Regions from separate parts of the Homo sapiens genome. Here region 2 is linked to region 1. The links are contacts of gene promoters, found by promoter capture Hi-C in blood cells and fetal thymus (Javierre and others, 2016). All regions are on one chromosome and are shown on one strand. Each heading gives the region's core, a stretch centred on a gene start or on the middle of the fragment in contact. The rest is flanking DNA. Distances are from core to core; before and after follow the strand shown.

Region 1 (5,465 bases), core at 892-3,391:
GTGGGAACAGTGGCCCCACCAAGACTGACTGTCTCACCCCACCCCGGGTGGGCTCCTGCCTGCCAGCCGTCCACCTGTCTGCTAGAAAGCCCTCCCTGGGCAGGGCCACCCAGCAATGGGTACAGCCTCCCTGGGCTCTGAATGCCTTGTGTGGGGAGGGTGGGGGTGTCTGGAGCGGAAGCCTCAGACCATTCAAAGCAAAGCCTGGCTTCACCATCTAATCAGGGGGCGAGGAGGTAGTAACAGAGACAGACATCAGAGCAAAAAGATCTGGGTTCAAACGCTTCACAACCCCAGCTCCACTGGCTGTCCCCCAGTGTCAGCCAGGCCTGAGTCTGACTATCTTCAGGGATGAGGCAAAGCCCTTTTCTACCACCCCTCCCTCTAGCAGGCAAGCCGTGTTTCTTTTGTGCCTCAGTTTCCCCTTCAGCTAGGGGGATGAAGGCTGACATGCCAGAGGCTATTATCCTATGTAGGGGCCCATGGTTCCCCTGACCACTTGGTTCCCACACACACCCTCAGGTAACCTACCAGGCGCCTAAACATCAGCACATTACACCACACAGCCATCCGTCACCAGGAAAACACTCATTCTGACTCAACGGAGCTCAGGAAACTTGAGGGCAACCACAGGGGCCGCGGGGGAAGTGTTTAGAGCCCATATGCGACTTGAGGGACCATCTTCTTCCTTTGAAACCTCATGGGGTTTACACCAGGGGCTGGGCGCTCGGCCAGGAATAACAGGTCTGGAGGCAAAGTGGAGGCCGTGGTGCCAGAGCAAGTGGGGGACATGAAGGCAGGGGAGCCCAGGTCCCGGCTCCAGGATGCCCAGGAGGCAACCATGACATAATGGGGCAGACAGGCTCCAACTCAGGGAGCCTCTGGGTGGAGAAGACAAGCCGTGGGGTCAAATGCCCAAAGGACACTTGACATTTTCCATAGGAGGGGACCTTAGGGTTCTAGTTCCTAGCCCAGGGAGCGGGGTGGGGGGTGCTCCCAGGGATCAGCAGGCAGGGCTGCCAGCCAGGTGGCCAGCCAGGGGACCAGATGACCAGATGAGACTCAATCTAGTCTTGAGCCTTGATCCACCCCCCCTCCCCGACACACCCAGAGAGGCTTCATTTCCGTCGCTGTCCTCCACTCCCGGTCACCATCCTCCTGGGCTCCTCATCCCTAAGGGCAGAGGCCAGGGGAAGGGGACCCACGCAGGCTGCAGGGGTCTCTGGGCTGGGAGAAGGTGGGCTCTGACTCAGAACGTTTGTGCATCCTCCTACTCCCCCCAAACCCCGCCCCAGGAGCCACACCCCAGGGGTTTCCCAGATACAGGTAGAAAAATAGATCCAAGTCGCAAGGAACCCTGAAGGGTCTGGAAACGCCAGCCAGTGCTGCCCGAAAGCCCGAAGGTGGATAGGTGGACCGGGGGCGGGTGTGACGCCCCCCCCCCCATACCTGGGGCGGGCAGTGGATCCCTACTGCGACCAAGCAGAGGGGGAGCCACAGGTGATGGGAGCCACAGGTGACCAGGGTGGCCCGAGGAGGCCGCCACCACCCGACGATCAGGTTTCCGCAGCGCGCCCCGCAGCGGGGCCCCGCGCAGGGGACCGGCACCGGCCCACCGCGGTCCCCTCGTCTGTCTACACCAAGGAGGTTCCCACCGCGGTCCCCTCGTCTGTCTACACCGAGGGGGCACGGGAGGTCAGAGATGAGGGGCAGTGAGGGGGCCAGAGAAAGGGCCTGCTCTGCGGGAGGGGGAAGAGGTCCCGCCACCAAAACCCCATCATACCCTCCGAACCCCCCAAATCAAGAGGGCCCCGAAAAGTTTATCCAGGACCCCGGACTCCAGCCGACCGTCCACGTGTCAGCGCGGCCGAGCTCACGCGAGCCTGACCCCGAGTGGGTCCGAGGGGCGGAACCCGGAGGGGGGTCGAGGTCCCTGGCTCGCCCCGCTCCCTTCAGCCCTGGCTGGGGGCGCAGGAGCGGCCACCATCCTGGCCGCGGGAGCCGGGCGGGAAGTGTCCGGCGCGTTGGCGCTGGCGGCGGGCGGCGGGCGGCCGCGCGCTGGGGCCGGACTCACCGTGCGGAGCTCCTGGGTTCGGTCCTTCATGCTCCCGGGAGTGGCAGCGGCGCCGGCTGCAGCCGTGTGAGCCCCGCATGCGCGACGGCCGCCCCGCGGCTGCGCAGCGCCAGCCCGGCCCCGCCCCGGCCCCCGGGACCCCGGCCCCGCCCCACCCCGCCCGGGCCCCGCCCAGACCCCGCCCAGACCCCGCCCCACCCCGCACGAGCAGCCCCGTGGGGATCGAAGCCCTGGGGTCTCGTCCTGGACGTTCCGCACGCGTGATCGCTCCCGGGGATGGGTCCCCAGAGACCCTGCTGCCTCCTCTGCCCCAGCCCTGTCTCGTTTTTTATTTATTATTTTTGGAGACAGGGTCTCGCTCTGTCGCCCAGGCTGGAGTGCTGTGGTGCAATCATAGCTCACTGCAGCCTTGAGCTCCTGAGCTCAGGCAATCCTCCCGCCTCAGTCTCCTGGGTGGCTGGGACTAGAGTTGCTCGCCACTACTCCTGAATAATTTTCAAATATTTTGTAGAGACAGGGTCTTGCTATGTTACTCAGGCTGGTCTTGAACTCCTGTCCTCAAGCGATCCTCCCTCCTCCCAAAGCTCTGCGATTACAGGCGTGAGCCACCGTGCCTGGCTTCCAGCCTCTTCCCGACTTAGCAGCTCAGCATCCCTGTCCCAGAATCCGGTCCTCATCCTCAGATCCCTTCACTTCCCCAGAATTTGCTGAAGGTTGTAACTCCCTCCTTCATTTCATTACCTTGGGACCTCCTGCTCTCCCTTCTGTTCCCCAGCCAAAAACCTCCTGGAGAGTTCCAGTCTGGGAGCCTCCACCCTTCCCCCTTGCTCCCATCATCCAGTAGGGACTCAGGCACTGGCCTCTTCTTTCCCTAGGATTTCTCAGTTCACAGCTCTGATGCTGCGTGACCCACCCCTTTTTCCTGCAGGATGAAGGAACTCCTCTATCTTTTTATGTTTGTTTGTTTGTTTGATTATTTATTTATGAGATGGAGTTTCACTCTTGTCGCCCAGGCTGGAGTGCAGTGGCGCTATCTCAGCTCTGCCTCCTGGGTTCAAGCGAGTCTCCTGCCTCATCCTCCCAAGTAGCTGGGATTACAGGTGCCCACCACCACGCCCGGCTAATTTTTTGTATTTTTTAGTAGAGACAGGGTTTCACCATGTTGAGCAGGCTGGTCTCAAACTCTTGACCTCTTGATTCTCCCGCCTCGGCCTCCCAAAGTGCTGGGCTTATAGGCGTGAGCCACCGTGCCCGGCCTATTTTTTTTTTTTTTTTTTGAGACGGAGTCTCACTCTGTTGCCCAGTCTGGAGTGCAGTAGCACGATCTTGGCTCACTGCAACCTCCACCTCCCGAGTTCAAGCAATTCTCCTGCCTCAGCCTCCCAAGTAGCTTGAGATTACAGGCACCCACAACCACGCCTGGCTAATTTTTTTGTATTTTTAGTAGAGAAGGGGTTTCACCATGTTGTCCAGGCTGGTTTCGAACTCCTGACCTCAAGTGATCTGCCTGCCTCAGCCTCCCAAAGTGCTGGGATTACAGGTGTGAGCCACTGCACCCAGCCAGGAACTACTCTATCTTTGGGAAAGAGATTTGAGTTATGGCCCCCCTCTCCTCCTTTCCCTGCATCCCCAATCCTGAACTCTGGCTCTAGGCCTGAGGTTCTATTTTCTCTTTTTTCGTTTTTGTAAAGACGGGGTCTCCTCATGTTGCCCAGGCTGGTCTCAAAGTCCTAGCCTCAAGCGATCCTCCTGGCTTGGGCTTCCAAAGCACTGGGATTACACTTGGCCAATGTAGGTTCTATTTTCTATCTAGAAGCCTGGGGCCTGGCTTCCTCTAGGACTCATGGGAAAACCTGTGGAGGAGTGGGAGTGGGGAGGCCAGTCAACAGCAGATGTTCTTTTGAAGGTCCCTGCCAGCATCTTGTTGCAACAGTGGTCTCGCACACACCCCCATAAGCCCGCTGTGCCCTCCACCACCCCCAGCTGTCACTTCTGTGGCCCACACCCTCTTGACCTGAAGCCAAGCACATCCCTTCCCTTCCCCAGGACTGCCAAAGCATTGGAGCTCTGGAGCCAATCCAGCCCCCTGCTGCCCAGTGTGTCTGGGCCTGGCACCTCTCCCAGACTATGGGCACAGGTTAGCTGGCTGCCAGGCAAGCTAGGGACACTGTTCCAGCTTTCCCTTCTTCCCTGGAAAATCTGGCCCAAGACGGTCCGATGTGGCCTGGCAGAGGGAACAGCCACACCCTGTTCCAGTTGTCCCGGCTTCAACTTTGGGTGCCCTGCAGAATGGGCATTGATGGCGCCCCACTTCACAGAGGAAAAGTAAGGAGGTAAGTGCTAGAGGAACTTGCCCAGAGATGACAAGTGACAGGGGAGTCTGCCTGACTCCTGGTCTAGCCTGCAGGGTGAGTCAGTGGGGTGGGTCACAGGTATGCCCCCAGAGCCCAGTGTCTGGCCCCTTAGGGAGAGGGCAGGAAAGGGAGGCTCAGCTCCTGCCCTCTGAGAGCCCTGGTGTCACACCAAGCATCACTCATTGAGACGCATATTAAATAGTAGCATGAAAAATGAATAAAGAAATAAATGTGGCCAGGCACAGTGGCTCATGCCTGTAATCCAGCACTTTGGGAGGCCCAGGAGGGAGGATTGCTTGAGGCCAGGAGTTTAAGACCAGCCTGGACTCCATCTCTTAAAAAAAAAAAAAAAGTGTGCCTTTCACTTCTTTTTTTTGTTTGTTTGTTTTTTTAAGGCTGAGTCTCTTTCTGTCACCCAGGCTGCAGTGCAGTGGTGCAATCCAGGCTCACTACAACCTCCACCTCCCATGTTCAAGTGATTTTCCTGCCTCAGCTTCTTGAGCAGCTGGGATTACAGGCACCCGCCACCACGCCCAGCTAATTTTTGTATTTGTAGTAGAGATGGGGCGTCACCATGTTGGCCAGGCTGGTCTTGAACTCCTGACCTCAAATGATCTACCCGCCTTGGCCTCCCAAAGTGCTGGGATTACAGGTGTGAGGCACTGCACCCGGGCTTGCCCTTCTCTTTAAACTCTGTTTTTCTGCTAAGTCTTTTCCTCATTTAATCATTCATTCATTCATCAAACATTAAATGGGAAACCATGCTCTGGGGCCACTGTTCTGCACTCAAGATGTTCCCACTGCAGTGGGGGAGACAGACATGGTTTTGGTAGGTGAGGGAACCAGGGTGGCTTCCCAGAGGTGGTGACATTCGAACAGGGTGTTGCAGTGGGATTGCAGCAGGGAGTGGACAAAGGAAGGATGCTGGGGCAGGGGTGGGGGTGGGGAGCTCTCTAAAATGGAGCACTCTACCGGGAGCACCTCAGGAGCCTGCTGTGGCACTTGGGTGGACATAGGTGGGGGATGAGCCCAAGGAA
Region 2 (5,403 bases), core at 1,046-3,545, 270 kb before region 1:
ACATCACACCTCTGAAGTATGGGGGGGAAAGTGGGAGGACAGGAGAAGACGGGCAAGCCCAAATCATTAGGTTTTGGCAGTCTCACTACAGTAAGAGACTAGTCATGCCAGGCATCCTCTCTCTCACTCCTTATACCAAGTATGACCATTCAGAGCTGCTATGATCTTGGGAACTGTACCACTGCTTCAAAAGCTCATTAGAATTTTGATCTGTGGTCTGTTTTCTACGAACCTGTAAAGAAAAGTGTATTGGCCGGGCATAGTGGCTTATGCCTGTAATCCCAGCACTTTGGGAGGCCAAGGCAGGCAGATCACTTGAGCTCAGGAGTTCGAGACCAGCCTGGCCAACATGGTGAAACTCCATCTCTACTAAAAATACAAAAATCAGCCAGGTGTGGTGGTGGGTGTCTGTATACTCGGGAGGCTGAGGCAGAGACTGAGGTAATCTGAGGTCATACCACTGCACTCCAGCCCAGGCGACAGTGAGACCATCTCAAAAAAAAAAAAAAAAAAAAAAAAGTGTATTTTGGAAAGAGGGAGGCTGCTAAAAGAAAGGCTAGACTGGAGGACATTAGCCACAAACACCAGACTCTCCAACACTCATGAGAAATGAACATGAGAGAATGAGAGTCAATGCGGTGAACACAAAAGATGATGCCTTTTTTCCTACTGGCATCTAGTGAGAACAGATCTGAATCTTCCTAACATCCTTCCACCTAAGCCTTCAAATAATCAGTCGTCTCTTTTCAAACCAGCAAAGCTATAACCCTGCACACTGCAGGGAGGAGAAAATCACTGTAACCAGACAGAAAAAGTCACTCTCTGAAAGCAGCGATAAAACAACAGCCAAAAGAACTGTCAGGAGATGGCAATGGGCCAAGATCTTCCTTCCCCATTGTCCCCATATGCCGAGGAGCTGAGAATCAGCAGCCTTGGCATAAATATACTTGGGACCATGAATTCTACTAAATCTTAGAGCAAGTGGGTTGATGTTACTGAGATCAAGCCACCTTCTCTCCCACCAGGCAGGAAGTTAAACGCCATCTTGGAAACCCATTTAAACCCATGGCAGCTAAGTTACGCCACAGTCACAACACAAGAGAAAAGGAATAGGGCAAGCCGGCCACACTACCTACTGCCAAGCCAGCCTTTCCAAGCGTTCCAAGCTTAGAAGACTGTGAAATCAACTACAAAGGCAGACAAAATACTTACATCGCAAACCAGCCACCTCATAATCTTCTTCCTCCTCCTCCTCTTCTTCCTCCTCCTCCTCTTCATCACTCTCATCATCTTCACTGTCCTCAGAAGCAGACTCTTCAGTATAGTTCCTGTGGGTAGAAAAAATAATGTAGGGAACACAGTTTTAGCCCAAAGTGGTCCTAAGAAGGGCTCAAATCCCACAGGGATCAGGAAACTTCTCTTCACAGACTACATATGTATAACGTATGATAATTCAGGGAGGGAACCTGAATGTAAGCCAGGAGAGTTTTTCATAAAAATGAAAAACCAAGTTTCAACAGCATGCCTCATGCCTCCTTCTGCCAGGCCACAGACAGTTTGGACAAGATACCAAAGGCAACAGAAATTAAGACCAAAATGCAATCCTACCCTTCCCCACACAAAGCAATACAAAACACTGTTTCTTTTGTCTCACAAAAAGAGCCAGATAATGTAATACATCAGTTACTAAAAGCTGTCCCCACCTCTGAGGTAGACTGAAAAGAATAAACAGAGCCCAGACAGGTGTGACTTCACCTTGATGGCCCCCTTCCAGGAGCTGAAACAGCTTGCAGATGACCATAATATCAAAGCAGTGGTAATCCCAGCTCGGAACAGCTGGTCCAAAGCCCCACCATTTCAGAGCAACATGTCTCATCTCTAAGTGCAGCTGGGATGGAGTGCAAAAGAACCTGCTAATACTGTTAAGGTGGGGTCAGGATCAAACAGCTCTGCCCCTTAGAAGGAAGCCCAGGCCGGGCACCGTGGCTCACGCCTGTAATCCCAGCACTTTGGGAGGCTGAGGCAGGCGGATCACCTAAGGTCGGGAGTTCGAGACTAGCCTGACCAACATGGAGAAACCCCATCTCTACTAAAAATACAAAATGAGCTGGGTGTGGTGGCGCATGCTTGTAGTCCTAGCTACTCGGGAGGCTGAGGCAGCAGAATCGCTTGAACCTGGGAGGTGGAAGTTACAGTGAGCCGAGATCGCGCCATCGTACTCCAGCCTGGGCAACAAGAGCGAAACTCCGTCTCAAAAAAGAAGCCCAAGCCAGAGTACCTATAAGCTGCACATTTTACAACCCCAAATTTCAGTGTGGAAAACAACAGTATTATCTTGGCAAGTACAAGGTGTCTCCTCTTTACAAGGCCCGGTATTTGGCCTTATTGAGATTCAAGTAAAAAAACAAAGCACCACCTCTACTCTCAGGGCATTCATAATCTCATGGGAGACAGACATGTATAAAACCAGAGACAAGATCCATGCACCAAAATACTACTTCAGAGAATGGAGGTTCAGCTGAACACAGAGGAGAAACCATGAAGCCTAAGGATGCAAGCACTTTTCAAAAGCGCAGTGAAATTTTAGCGAAGCCATGGGCAGTTTACCCACTGGGAATTCTGGGCAGAGAATGTTCCCAGCTGGGAGAAAGGCACAAGAGGCAAGGATGAACAACAAACGGTCTGTAACAAGTACACAAATATGGGATCTAAAGCTAATAAAAACCCAAGCTGGTATTGTGTAAGAGTCTCAGAAGTGAGGCCAGGAATTGGGATGTTATTCTAGAGGCAATGGGAAGACTAGAAGTTTGTGATCAGGAATGTGAGCAGATCTTTGCTTTGTGTACAGCATTCTGGTGTTGCAATAGTTGGGTGGATAAGAGGGGAGAAGACGTGATATAAGAAAGAGGAGTTGAGAAGCCACCAAAGGAGCCCAGGTGACAGATGTAGAAGGGACAAATGATAGCGGAGACCACGGAGAATGGAGAGCAAGAAACTGGATCATCAAACATCTGGGCATTGGATTGATATCATGGCAAATTAATGGGTTTGTAGGATGAGGGAGAGATGTTCATTTCCAAGTTGACACCCAAGTTCTACTCATGATAGGGAAGAAAACATTATGTATCGGTAAGGAAGGTAATGAGTGTGAGATTTTTAGCAGTGGGTGATAGCAGAAGTAATCATGAAGACACAGGAAGTGGGCAACAGGAGGCTAAAGGCAGAGAGAGAGATTTCATTACTTGAGAAGAAGGTATGATCAAGAAGACAGAGAATGTGGCTGGCAGTGAAAACTAGAAATGTCAACATTCAGCTAAAATTAGCTCAGAGTCCTTTGAGCTCCTATTGAAGTACTGTAAATGATCAGGCTCTGTACCCAAAAGATGAACTTAAAGCTCCTTAGATTCATTCTGTTTGAATAACTCAAGCTTAATTATAACAGCTATTCATATTTATTCATTCAATTATTTTTAAAAGAAAAGATTCTCACCTGCCACGGGAGTTGCGCCTGGCAGTAGCGGGCTGGCAAGCTGGGCACTGCCACTCACCATCTGGTACTTCATAGAGGGCCGGCCTCAGACAAAACAGGTGGAAGGCTTTATTACACTCATCACACAAGATCAATTTGTCATCCTCACCTGCAGAGAGATAAATGTGAATAGCATTGTTGGGAGCACAGCAGCAGTCAATGAGCTGTAAGGAAGAGGCAATCACCCTACAATTCAAGGCACACGAGGAGACATGTTCCATAGAATGCTACCCAGTTGTTGCTTTGTAAATGCAGGCATTTTCTAAAAAGAAATGAAGCATAACTTAGATTACAGATAATTTGGGAATCAGGTCTCCTAATTTATATCCCAAAACTTACCCATGGCTATGACAGAACAGTTAACAATTACTAAGAGGCACAAAAAACCCAAGTGAGAGTAGGAAATTTTGCTGCTTTTTCGACCTCCCCAAACGTTTCTCAACTTATGCCTGATGAGTGTTCTCTCTCTCTCTTTTTTTTTTTTGGAGACAGAGTCTTGCTCTGTCACCCAGGCTGGAGTGCAGTGGCGCGATCTCGGCTCACTGCAACCTCCGCCTCCCGGGTTCAAGTGATTCTCCTGCTTCAGCCTCCCAAAGTGCTGGGATTACAGGCGTGAGCCACCGCGCCCGGCCCCTGATGGGTTCCCTTAAACCATGTGGTTTCTTACATTTGAAAAAGTGTTGTGCTGAGTCAACTTAATATGGTAATCTCTCCTTCCAACCTTCATTCTAGAGCGATTGAACGCTTTACAGCAACTGAATGATTTTACGTAGATCTTTTCATCTCTAACCTAACTCAGAAAATAACTCTAGCCACTGAAAAGCCAATCAGCAAGGGGCTTCTAACCATGAAGTTCCTTTTGCACATATGAGACTGCATGCCACCCTCTGTACCCGGACTGCCTCCTGCTGAAAGCACATATCTTACTTCACAGATGACTAAAGTTCTGAGCCAATCAAAGGATTTAAAACTAAACTAACTAAAATAGTTACAAGGATTAACTAATTTTGTTTTCTGTAAAAAATCAGAAGATTGAAGAGATCAATTGCTTTTATGTTATGCTCTAAACCGAGGAACAAAGGGCCTGCTCTGATTCCCTGGCACGACATTTCAAAGACTGGCATGTTACAGACCTGCAGGAGAGTAAAATCTATACCACACTTATATTCTGTGTACACAAAATTCTTTTGGGTAGAAATGAAGATCTTGGGAATAGAAATCCTACTCCCTAATATACCCACATAAGCAAATTTGATTTAAATATACCTTTCTTTCGACAAACTTTGCACCTAGCATTTTCTGCGGACATATCCCACTTGATACAGGCATCAAGCATCCCAAGCAGCACGTGCATCCTGGAGAAAGTCTGAGCTTCCCGGATTGCTGTCTTCCATTTCTCCAGTGCAGATGCAACCTAAACAGAGACCAAACCAGGCCAGCATTACTACACTGACCAAAGACACTGAGAGAGAACTAGGAACAGGGGACAGTATGAGAGAATTCTGAGGACACTTGCCTCCTAGAACTTCACTAATCTAAACCATTTATTCTTATAAAAGGCTCCAAAGGGGGAAAAAAACTTGCCAAAGGTCACACAGAGATGCAGTGGAGTGGGTGGATGACTGGGGACAAGCATCTTCTAGGGAAATCCACCTAACAACTCAGTATAATTTAAAAATAGGATCACCTGTATGCTGTAAATGCTATAATGCAACAATTTTAGACAGCTAATAAAACTCCGATTTAAAAGATAATCAATAACCTACCACAACACCACCAATCCAATACCACAGCTGGATTTCAATGCCCTGCCCGAAGCAAAGAAGTCCTTGTGAAGTAATGAATCTCCTAAAGGAAAACAGCCAGTTATCCTG

Evidence for each region. Contacts are between HindIII fragments. The CHiCAGO score rates a contact against its expected background, and 5 or more counts as called.
Region 2: a fragment that was not itself captured here is called in contact with the fragment with the promoter of STX1A in region 1 in 1 of 17 cell types (erythroblasts); the score reaches 5.8 in erythroblasts.

The regions. Positions count from the first base shown.
Region 1 is chr7:73,717,528-73,722,992 of GRCh38, forward strand. STX1A (syntaxin 1A) reads right to left here and starts at 2,142. Exons shown (of 10, transcript NM_004603.4): 1 at 2,075-2,142. The coding sequence starts at 2,104. RefSeq lists silencers at 1,538-1,617, 1,728-1,787, 1,798-1,997, 2,058-2,257. The HindIII fragment of the contact is 14,118 bases long and covers 1-5,465 here.
Region 2 is chr7:73,446,052-73,451,454 of GRCh38, forward strand. It overlaps BAZ1B (bromodomain adjacent to zinc finger domain 1B), which reads right to left. Exons shown (of 20, transcript NM_032408.4): 14 at 4,796-4,943; 15 at 3,491-3,638; 16 at 1,213-1,328. Among named protein-coding and RNA genes, the nearest start is that of FZD9, 15 kb to the left of the region's middle. The HindIII fragment of the contact is 2,262 bases long and covers 1,165-3,426 here.